2 separate regions of the Homo sapiens genome follow, and region 1 is linked to region 2. The links are contacts of gene promoters, found by promoter capture Hi-C in human tissues and cell types (Jung and others, 2019). All regions are on one chromosome and are shown on one strand. Each heading gives the region's core, a stretch centred on a gene start or on the middle of the fragment in contact. The rest is flanking DNA. Distances are from core to core; before and after follow the strand shown. Region 1 overlaps SCP2 (sterol carrier protein 2). Region 2 holds the start of SLC1A7 (solute carrier family 1 member 7).

Region 1 (5,420 bases), core at 2,566-5,065, 170 kb after region 2:
TGGTGAAACCCTGTCTCTACTAAAAATACAAAAATTAGCCAGGTGCTGTGGCAGGTGCCTGTAATCCCAGCTACTCGGGAGGCTGAGGCAGGAGAATCGCTTGAACCCAGGGCACAGAGGTTGCAGTGAGCCGAGATCATGCCACTGCATTCCAGCCTGGGTGACAGAGTGAGATGCCATCTAAAAAAAATAATAATAATAATTAGCCGGGCATGGTGGCTCCTGTAGTCCCAGCTACTAGGGAGGTAGAGGTTGCAGGCAGCCGAGATCACGCCACTGCACTCCAGCCTGGATGACACAGCGAGGCTCTGTCTCAAAAAAAAGAAAAAGGGTCATTAGCCTAAATGATATTCTAAATATAAAGTGGCCAAAAACTGGAACTGAAAAGTTGTCAAAAGTTTACTTGCGTATAAGCCTTTTGTAAGAAAAAAATAAAACATTCTAGTTAAAATATTTGAGATCTTGGCATTTGCTTTTCAAGTATAAAGTTGCATATTATACAGTAGGATAACCCAGATTTTCATTATTTCATGTCTCTGAAATACTTACGGGTTATTAACTGAATGTTTATGATTTTTCCATCCAATTTTTGCAAAGTGTTCAATTTTTGTTCCTGTAAAGAAAGCAAACATCTACCAGTGGGTGAATGTTTTTCCGCTGCTTATTAACAAATCTTGCAATGGTACTCAGTGTTCTGCTAAATATCTCCATATTTTCCCTTTCATATATATCATCAGTATTAAAGACTTCAGCACTGTTCCCTCAAAAAATTTTTATTTATAATTAAATGTGGGCCTAATTAACGAACTGAATCAACTAATAGGCACATAAGATAAAAACAGTTCAAACTGATCTATTCTAATTAAAATAAGTAGAACCCAGTTTCAAAAACAAGAAACATGGTGGTTTTAAGGCAGGAGAACACTACAATTCCTCTAGGAGTCTGTCAAACACCCCAGTACGCTAGACTGAGAGAATTTTACACAACTCACACCCTCCAGGGCATGATAAGATATTTCATCTTCCTCCCTTTCCTTATGATAAAACAGAAAAGTTTTTAGAAGAGTTATATCCTGATAAGAAATATGTATGCCTTTTAAATTCCTTAACAGAAAATTTAAATAATCGTGTCAGGAAAACAAAAAAAAGTACAGTAATGAGGTAAAACACGCAAAAAAAATTTTTTTTTACTACTTTTAAAAAGATAAAACTGAATAAAATATGCTTTGAATTCTCATTTGGTGCTGTAAAGGCCAAAGAAAAAAGAAAGCCACCAATTAGAGCTGATAATGTTATATTAATGGCACAGTAAAGTACAAAGTTCCCCATGTCTGTTTTATCTCTCTCTTCTCTATCAAGGAGGATGATCTTCAGAGCAAAAATGACATACATATAATTAAGCAAATCTTATCTCAATTCTAATAAAAAGAGAAGATAAATTCCACACTTGTGATCTTCTAACAATAAAAATAGTGATCAGGGCCAAGCGCGATGGCTCATGCCTGTAACCCCAGCATTTTGGGAAGCCAAGGTGGGTGGATCATTTGAGGTCAGGAGTTCAAGACCAGACTAGTCAACATGGTGAGACTCTGTCTCTAGTAAAACTACAAAAATTAGCCAGGCGTAGTAAAAACACAAAAATTAGCTAGGTATAGTGGCATACACCTGTCATCTCAGCTACTTGGGAGGCTGAGGCAGGAGAATCACTTGAACCCGGAAGACGGAGATTGCAGTGAGCCGAGATTGTGCCATTGCACTCCAGCCTAGGTGACAGCGTGAGACTCCATCTCAAAAAAAGAATAGTGATCAGGAGGAGGCCAATATGGGTTCAATAAGAATAAGACAAGTCAAATTATGTGTTATCTTTTCGTGACTGAATTGACTGTTAGATCAAAGAAAACATAGTATCTGGACAGCAGCAAGAAAATTAACGAAATTTCTCAAAACATTTTGGACAAGATAAGGAAATATCGTAGTGTGGGATTTTGGGGGGTTATTTTCATTTTTATCTTTTGGTGTTACCAAAAAAAAAAAAAGAGGGTTCTTCTGTCAAATAAGTTTAGACTATGGTTAAACAAAGCTAAACACGTCTTTACTGTAAGACATTTGGAGCCTTTACTATTGCACTATGTGCATTATGACCATCTAGAAGAGGATTAAAGTATGAAGCATTTCCCAATATTACACTCATGTGAAACAACAGGCATTAATTAATGCATTGACCTAGAGAAAAGTTTCTAGCACTAACTTCTAACCTCAGCTCTGGTCTTGTTAATATTTCTATTACAAAGTGAGTAAGAAAACTAGAGGCTCTCTCACCAAACCTAAAGCTGGAAGGGACTGCTATAATGTTGAATTTCAACAAGGTCTATCAATAGGATGGATCAGAATATAAATTAAACACTCAGTTCTATTCTTGAACTCCCACAACAACCTGCAAAAATGAGCAACAACTATGAGAAACCTCAAGCTCAGTGAGATTTCATAGTGTGATGTGACTAGCAGAATAGCTTACATGGGATCACAGTACAGCAATTAGACTGCTTATGGGTTATGAAACAAGTCTAATGAGAGTAGTTAAGAGAAGAAATTAAATATAGGGTCAGGCTGGCTTCAGATATTTGAAGGGCTACAAGGTAAAATAGGCTTTTTCTGTCATTCTCAGAAGACAAAAACAAGACCATGGATGCAAACCATAGGGTGAGAGATTTGGGTTCAACATGAAAAAGGGAATTGTAACAATTGGAATCTCCTAAAAATTGGGATTGGTGGCCTCAGTTGGTGACAAATTCCTTGTTTTAGGAAGTACACATGCTTTATTGTCTCTATTAGATTTGCAAGCAATCCATGCATAGATTGGTAGGAAGAAGGGTGGCTAAAACAGTAAAGTACTTGGCATGGTGTCTGACATAAGAGATGTTCAATAATGTTCGTATCTTTTCTTCCTTTTTTCGTAACATAGGATCTGATTAATCAATAAAAGACAGCATCCCCTTGAAAAATATTCTGCCAGTCACTTACATATTTATTAAGCCTGGCCACTGATGAAGGGCTTATTGACTACTGATTCTGAATTGCCAATTAAGATTTTTGACTATTCAAAGGCTATGCCTTTATGTCAAACTATTTTAATATCCTATAATTTAATTATGAAACCACAAACTCGGCTGGTTCTACAAATGATTTAAACTACTATAAGCTTTCTTACATATTCATTTCTAGTGCACATTCAGAACACTCACAAACAGCAATTTTAAATAACAATTTAAATTATATAAAATTCTACAATTCATTTAGAAATCTGTCGAATGAAGAATAAAGAAACAATACCCCCAAATGATAGCCTCAGAAGCAAAAGTTTTTCACTGACCTTCTCCTACCCTCCTGTCTCTCAGGCCCATTCTCTCCTGAGGCTAACCATAGAAACTAGAATCCCTCTTCCCCAAGGCAGGTCATAGAAACCAGAACTCCTTTTCCCCAAAGCCAGTCATAAAACCTAGAAATATTACTTTAACTTCCTCCACCTTTCTGTGTAAAAACTGGTCATAAACAAACTATCTGACCTATCTTGTTTGACTGTGGGTCATAAGACCCCCATTCCAGAAAGGGACCTGCCCCACGCCCAGAAGGAAGGAATGTGTGCTCAAAGAGGCCAAGAAGAACCTAGATGGACAGGCCTGGCTGGGTTTCTCCACTCAGTCTATTAGCATTAGATCATATGCTTTTTGTCCAATCATATTTCTATAGGGCTGTTCCATACTTTGTTGAACCTAAGCATAAAAATGGACAATTTCCCATTTTTTTGAGTCTTCATTCTGAATGTTCCCGTGTACACACGTTAAATAAATTTGTATGCCTTTTCTCCTGTTAATCTGCCTCATGTAAGTGATTTTCAGTGAACCTTCAGAGGGTCAAGGCCCTTGTTCCCTACAATGACATTTCCACTAAAATAGTGTACATTTATATTTCAAATTTTAGACTAGAAAACTGTCCAATTATTCTGAGCAATGTAAAACTTGAGAAAATATATACACTTAAAAACACATCAGTAACAGGATTTCCAGGTAATTGAGGAAAAATGGAGGCCACGTAAATCTGTGTCTCTCGGCCGGGAGCGGTGGCTCACGCCTGTAATCCCAGCACTTTGGGAGGCCGAGGCGGGTGGATCACGAGGTCGGGATATCGAGACCATCCTGGCTAACACGGTGAAACCCCGTCTCTACTAAAAATACAGAAAAATTAGCCAGGCGTGGTGGCGGGCATCTGTAGTCCCAGCTACTCGGGAGGCTGAGGCGGGAGAATGGCGTGAACCCGGGAGGCAGAGCTTGCAGTGAGCTGAGATTGCGCCACTGCACTCCAGCCTGGGCAACAGACTGAGACTCTGTCTCAAAAAAAAAAAAAAAAAAAAAAAAATCTGTGTCTCTCTATAGCCTCTAAAACCAATACAGAATAACCAGAAAAAATAAAATAGCACAAATCATACTCTCAGCATAACTAGAAAATAGAAAATGCCAAATTTCAAATTATCTATAAGTTAAAAAAAAAAGAAAAAGAAAAGAAAAAATATATAAGACCAAATCCCAGCCAACAACTGCTCACGTTTCTACACAAACCTTTAAGGGTACATGGGCAGGCTGAGGAAACTGTGCAGAGAAGAGGGGAGATAATCGCAGGCCAACAACTGCTCTAAACTACCAAGAAAAGAAAGACCTCCTCCCCAAGTGTGAAAATACCAAGAAAATATTCCTATAGATCAAACCATGACTATATGGAATGGGCTGAAAAACACAGGAGATCTGAGGTGGGAATCTTAAAGGTATAAGTTCTGAGAGGAAAAAAAAAAGCAAAATGAAAGGGCAAGGTCCCTTTTGGTGCAATTGAGTAGTGAAGGAGAAAAGCAGCATAAGAGGACATTTGTATGTAAGAGGACATTTGTATGGTGCAATTGAGCGGTGAAGGAGAAAAGCAGCAAAAGAGGACAAGGTACACCTGTAGTCCCAGCGACTCAGGACGCTGAGACAGGAGTATTGCCTGAGCCCAGGGGTTTGTGGCTGTGGTGCACCATGATTGCACCTAAAAAGAGTCAGCCTGGGTAGTATTGCAAGACCCCATTCTACTACACTTACAGAAGAGGGCACCATAGAACTAAGAATCCCCTCAGTCTACAAACAACACACTCAAATCACCAGGCAATAAAACTAGAAATTACTAATAAAATTAAAAGTCCACCTGGAAATTTAAAAAATATTTCCATGAAATAATTCTTGGGTAAAAAATGAAAATAGAAATGGAAATTATAGAACTTGTCAGAAAATAATGATAATGAAAATACTACATATCAGAATCAATGTGATACATTTAACACAGTAATCAGGAAAATATATACCACTAACCATTTATTAATAAGAATAAATGAATGA
Region 2 (5,630 bases), core at 1,632-4,131:
ATCAGGGAAGGCTTCGAAGAAGAGGGGGATTTAACCTGTAACTTTCGTGACAAGGAAGGACATTCTAGGCCAAGGAAATAGCACAGGCAAAGGTGCAGAAGCCTGAGACAGGATGCAGCGTTCCAGGACCCTGCAGTGGTTTGGTGTCATAGGAGCTGGAGGGGTGACGGAAGGAGTAGGAGGTAATGCTGAAAGGGTGAGGAAAAGGGTGAAAGTGCCTTGCAGGGGAGCATAGACTCGATGCTGCAGACCGGGGTTTCCCAGGCGTGTTCTCCAAACACCAGGCCCAGGGAGTTCTCTGCTCCAGAGGAGGGGTGGGATTCTCTATTCTCCACTTGGTGACTTCCTCCGACACAGCCGCTACTGTAAAGACTTTCATAGTAACTACCTGGGGCTATCTGCAAGGCACTGGGCCACGCTCTAACCATGGCGCATGCAGCACTGTATGACCCACATCAAAACCCTATGATCTAGGTACTGTTGCATTATCCCCATTTTACAGGGAAGTTAAGAAATGTTCCCAAGGTCACACAGCTGGTTGAAGGTAGAGCTGAGGTTTTAACTCTAGCAGTCTGACTTTGAGCTGTCTCAGAGGAAATAACGTGCTTAACTTTTTGTTTCGTCCAGCATTTCCCAAACTTCCTTTTGATGTAATTATGGAAAAATTGTCTTGCACATCTAGTGACATTGTAAAAGGCAGTTGATTCTTTGTCAATGGTGAACTATTATAGGGTTCTGACCCAGGAGACTTGATTTGATTTGCAAATATTCTTAGTAAACTCATTATCAGTCACTTACACTTTAGTGTGAATTAGTCCGTTCTTGGGGTCTCTCCACTTTCTTATAAGCTTCCTGAAGGCAGGGCAGGTACTGTCTGATTCACTGTTGTGTTTCTAGTACCCAGGGGGTGTGGCACACTAAATGGTGCTATAAGAACATTTGCTAGAGTGAGTTGAAATTCTCCTGTTGAAGACCGTAGGAACAGTGGAAAGAATGGCTGTAGTCTGGTAGGCAGGTAGTGGTAGGCTCAGCCTGTGGGAGAGAGGAGTCAGTGGTGGCTATAGGGCACGTCCTGGGAATGGGAGTCATGGAGCTGTGGTAGAAAGCAAGACTCACCTATATCATGGCACAGCTAAAGGCCAGGTCTGGGCTGGGTGTGGTGGCTCATGCCTGCAGTCCCAACACGTTAGGAGGCCAAGATGGGAGGATTGTTTGAGCCCAGGAGTTGATCAAAACCCAAATCCAAATACCTACTTAGCATATTTTCTCTTCTGGGAAGTAACTAACCACCTGATTATTTGGAAAATGAGGCATTTGTTGGAGTTGAAGGTGTAGCAAGAAACTTTTGGTTTTAAGAGTCAAAGTCAGAGGAAAAAAAACTCTCAGACTTGTATTCACCCCCACCCCCCACCCCAAGCTACTGCAAAGAGCAGGGGCTTTGGAAGATTGGTTTGTTGAAATGAAGTTCCTTTGACAAAGGTACCTGGGCCCATTTCTCTCATTCTAAAAAGGACAAGACTGATACCCAGAGACGGCAAGGTCACAGAGCTGATTAAATTGGGATCAGAATCTTCTCAGTCAGGAGCTCTGTCCATGGCTTCAGAGCCTGTGCCCCAGTCCCCTCTCCCCACCTCTCCCCTATGCCCCACTTGGCCCGTCCTCTTCATCCTCTGCCCCTGTCTCCTATGTCAGGAGGAGGAAGCCCCTGTGTGCACCCCACCCTTTACCTCCCACCCTCACTGCAGACTGCACTTCCCATTCCCTGCTGCCTGCTGCCTGACTGCTCCTAATGAGATTACAGATCTCTGGTGAAATAGACGAGGGTTAATTCCCCCAGGCTTTACAGGGCAGGGCAGGCCAGGCCACAAGAAATAGCAAAAAGACACCTATTCTCCAAAGCACTAAGTGTGATAATGACCCTAAGAGTCCGTTCCCCTGTTCAGCACACCAGGGTTCACACTGCGTTTCCAAATACCCTCTGGGTGGAATTTTGTACCAGCCCTAACAAAGTAGATGCTGTTATCATCTCTATTTTACAGATGGAGAAACTGAGGCACAGTGAGATGAAATGCTTGTCTGAGGTCACACAGCTAGTAAGTGGCAGAGCTGGGACCCGAATGTGGGTCTCTTGGGCTCTGTCATCTTTAAAAAATAATAGGCCCAGAGAGCCTGCAGGGTGCCCAGCACCAGGCTTGAAACAGCCCTGAAGCATCTACGTCCCATTTCCCGGTGAGTGGCACAGCCCACCTTTGAACTCAGGTCCCCTGGACTCGAATCTACATTCCCCACAATACTGCCAAGCACCCTTGAACCTATCTGCCTGTTCATGTGGTGGAAACAGACTGGCCTAGCCCTGACTTCTGACCTCTGTGACCATGGCCAAGGGACTGGCTTCTGGGGTCTCAGCCTCCCTTTCTGAAAAATGAAGGTGGGAACCCTGGGATCTTTGGGACAATTCCCTATGATTGGCATAGCTAAGGCAGCCAGCACAGGCCTGGCCCGCAGCACATGCACCCACCCACCTCAGTTTCTTTATCTGTAAAATGGTGATATTAATAGTACTTATTTCTTGGGATTGGTGTTAGGATTAAATATGCCAGTACATGTAACACTCTTCTAGAATGGCACCTGGTGCATAGTAAATGCTTAATTAATGTTGAGGGAAACTGATATCTTACTGTCTTGTTTTTGATTCTTTCTGGAAGGAAGCAGGGGTAAAGATCAAACCAACCAAGCAAATGTTCCTCTTGTTCCTTCCAGTACCTGGTCCACTCAACTGTTTAAGAGGAACGCTTGGCTTTGAGGCCTGAACTCCTAGACCACGTGGTCTGCTCTAATTTCCCAGGCCCTAATCTGCTCCCAGCTCCTAATGATGCAGCTGGTAATAGGATTGTGGCTTCCCTCTAAGGCGGCCACACGGGCATGGCCGTGGGGCTGGCGACTGGTGTTTAGCAACTCCGACCACCTGCCTGCTGAGGGGCTAGAGCCCTCAGCCCAGACCCTGTGCCCCCGGCCGGGCTCTCATGCGTGGAATGGTGCTGTGCCCCTTGCCAGCAGGCCAGGCTCACCATGGTGCCGCATGCCATCTTGGCACGGGGGAGGGACGTGTGCAGGCGGAATGGACTCCTCATCCTGTCTGTGCTGTCTGTCATCGTGGGCTGCCTCCTCGGCTTCTTCTTGAGGACCCGGCGCCTCTCACCACAGGTCAGCCACCCAGAGCATCTCGGGACCCCTGTCCAGGAGGGGCGTGTGGGCCTGAGGGATCTGGGGTCCCGTTCTAGCATCACAGCTCCCTGGTGCCATGACAGTGTGTGAATCCCTCTGCCTCTCTGGGTCCTGGTTTTCTCATCTGTAACATGGGTGTGATAAACACTTTGCAGGACTAGAGGGAAGAACCAGTGATGTGGCTGGGGAGTGATTACAAACCCAGCACCATCAGGTGAGGAGAGGCGAGGGTGCCTCATGATGACAAACACAGGGCCAAGAGCTGTGGCGGGGAAAGAGGGGGGTCTTGTGTGAGTTCAAACAGGCACCAGAGAACACCTCCTAAAGGCTGCTCAAATGACAAGAGATCCAGGAAGCGTGCTCTAGGCAGAGGTGACAGCAGATGCCAGGTGCAGCGGCCGGAGCGCAGAGGCCAGCAGGCCCATAGGTCCCATCGCCACACGTGGGCTTGCGGCAACCATGAGATGCTTTTGGGCAGAAGAGCGACAGGCCAGTTTGGAGCTTGGGAGACCCCTCAGGTGCTGAGTGGAGAGGGGGTGATTCTGGGGCAGGCAGGGGGCCGAGAAGGGGCAGCCTGGGGGAGATGCGGCAGTGCAGACAAAAGGGACAGACGTGAGAACTGTTTTCAAAAGGGGGAGCTTCAGGATGTGGGGGCCGATTGGATGTGGGCTGGGGGACAGGAAGGGGAGCCAGGCCCCGGGTTTCCAGCCTGTGTAACTGCCATGAAGAAGCTGCGTTTCCTGGGAAAGAGCCCCTTTCCCTGTCAGCCCCCATCTCCTACAGGAGAGGGAGGGACATTCCCATGGTGTTAAGGACAAAATCATTCTGCCACTAGTTAAACTGGTAAGGAAGGCTCTATTCAGGACTATTGTGGTAGGGGGGTAGTTATCAAGACCTCCTGGGGAGAGAGATGGGACCCAACCACAAATACAACAAAGATGGCTGGAGATTTATAGCCAGCGAGCAGAGGGAGGGGGTCGGGGACAGAAAATGACTACAGGAGACATCAGGGTAGGGGGATTCTTGTTGAAGGCAGGCCAGGGTGATCAGACATTGATCTGGGATGAGGAATTTGATCCAGTATCAGGATGCTGGAGGGTGAGGGATCCTCACTAAACTGACTTGGCAGGACTTTTGCTACAGCTGGACTATGCAGGCTGAAGACAAGGCCCAAGGACAAAGCCCAGTGGAAAAGAGGGCTCAGAGGAGCCTGTCTAAAGTGTGGTCAAGGAGAGAGGCTTTGTCAATGGGCTCCTGGAAGAGTCCCTATTCCCAGAAAGTCCTCTTCCCGCAGCTCACTAATGTCTAATGCCATCTCTACAACTGGGGTCAGGCATTAGACTTTGTCTTCCATTAAAAGGAAAACACCCACTCCTGGAGAACTGAGCCACGACTATAGTGACCCTGTTAAGCCTCGAGCAGTTATTTAGGAAGAAGCATGGACTCTGGAGGCAGAGAAACCCTGAACTTTGACTCTGCTAGCAAATGGCTAGGCAATATCCTCTCTCCTCCCTGGGCCTCAGTTTCCTTGTCTGTAAAATGGGATGTGGGGCAGTATATGTCTACTAGAATTATTATGAGGAATAAACCAAGGATTCATCAATGCCCAGCATACAGTAGGTGCTTACTACGTGTTACTTCCCCCTCCCTCCCTTATGTACCTGTTAAAGTCCTATCTACATCAGGAACCATCTCATCATCCATAGCTGATGAAAGTAACTGTAACCCCGCTGCTGGCTGCCTGGCTTCAGAGCTGGTTATATGGGTGTCTCTTTCTCCCACCAAGCTGCATATTGCTGAACAACATATGGGTTTGTTTTTTTTTTTAACCAAAACGTGAGCCTAGCCCTGTGTCAGGCACAGAGAGAACGCTCAACTATCTGCTGCATTAAACTGGCAATGGAACAAAAAAATCTGCAATCTGTTCTCTTTAATTTTCCTCAGCAACAAAAATATATCTCCTGCAGGAAGATTATTTTGTGAAAACAAATTGGAATGCCTATTATTAAAAGCCAAACTCATCTGGGGCCTACTTTGCCAAAGCTGCCTTTCCCATCTGTTTGGAAATGCAAATGTATTCCAGTCTGGATTAACCTGCCAGATAAATTGAAGGAAGGATGTAGAGGCTTAGAACAATTATTTGGCAGAAACTGGCTTTCTCAGCATCTTACTTTGAAATCTGGGATTTCTCTGTTTGATCTCTTTGCCTGTGACTCAGAAACTAAACACTTCTTGTTTTGTAAGCTTATGCAACAGGCAAAAATCATAAACAATATGGAAAATGGTAGAATGTTCTATTTGTGAAAAAGAACTTTTATCCTTGATAAAATCACAGGATTTTATCTTGGTGTATGAGTGTCTCATTTAAAAATACTGAGCATTTTGAGACTTCCAGTTAAACCATG

The links. Contacts are between HindIII fragments. The study calls those that stand out against the background at their distance.
Region 1: a fragment that was not itself captured here is called in contact with the fragment with the promoter of SLC1A7 in region 2 in 2 of the 25 tissues and cell types used here (IMR-90 fibroblasts and thymus).

The regions. Positions count from the first base shown.
Region 1 is chr1:52,969,962-52,975,381 of GRCh38, reverse strand. SCP2 (sterol carrier protein 2) reads right to left here. Exons shown (of 16, transcript NM_002979.5): 7 at 550-613. Among named protein-coding and RNA genes, the nearest start is that of SCP2, 45 kb to the right of the region's middle. RefSeq lists enhancers at 1-25, 26-527. The HindIII fragment of the contact is 5,158 bases long and covers 1,237-5,420 here.
Region 2 is chr1:53,139,889-53,145,518 of GRCh38, reverse strand. It overlaps SLC1A7 (solute carrier family 1 member 7), which reads left to right and starts at 2,881. Exons shown (of 11, transcript NM_006671.6): 1 at 2,881-3,204. The coding sequence starts at 3,070. The HindIII fragment of the contact is 7,479 bases long and covers 1-5,630 here.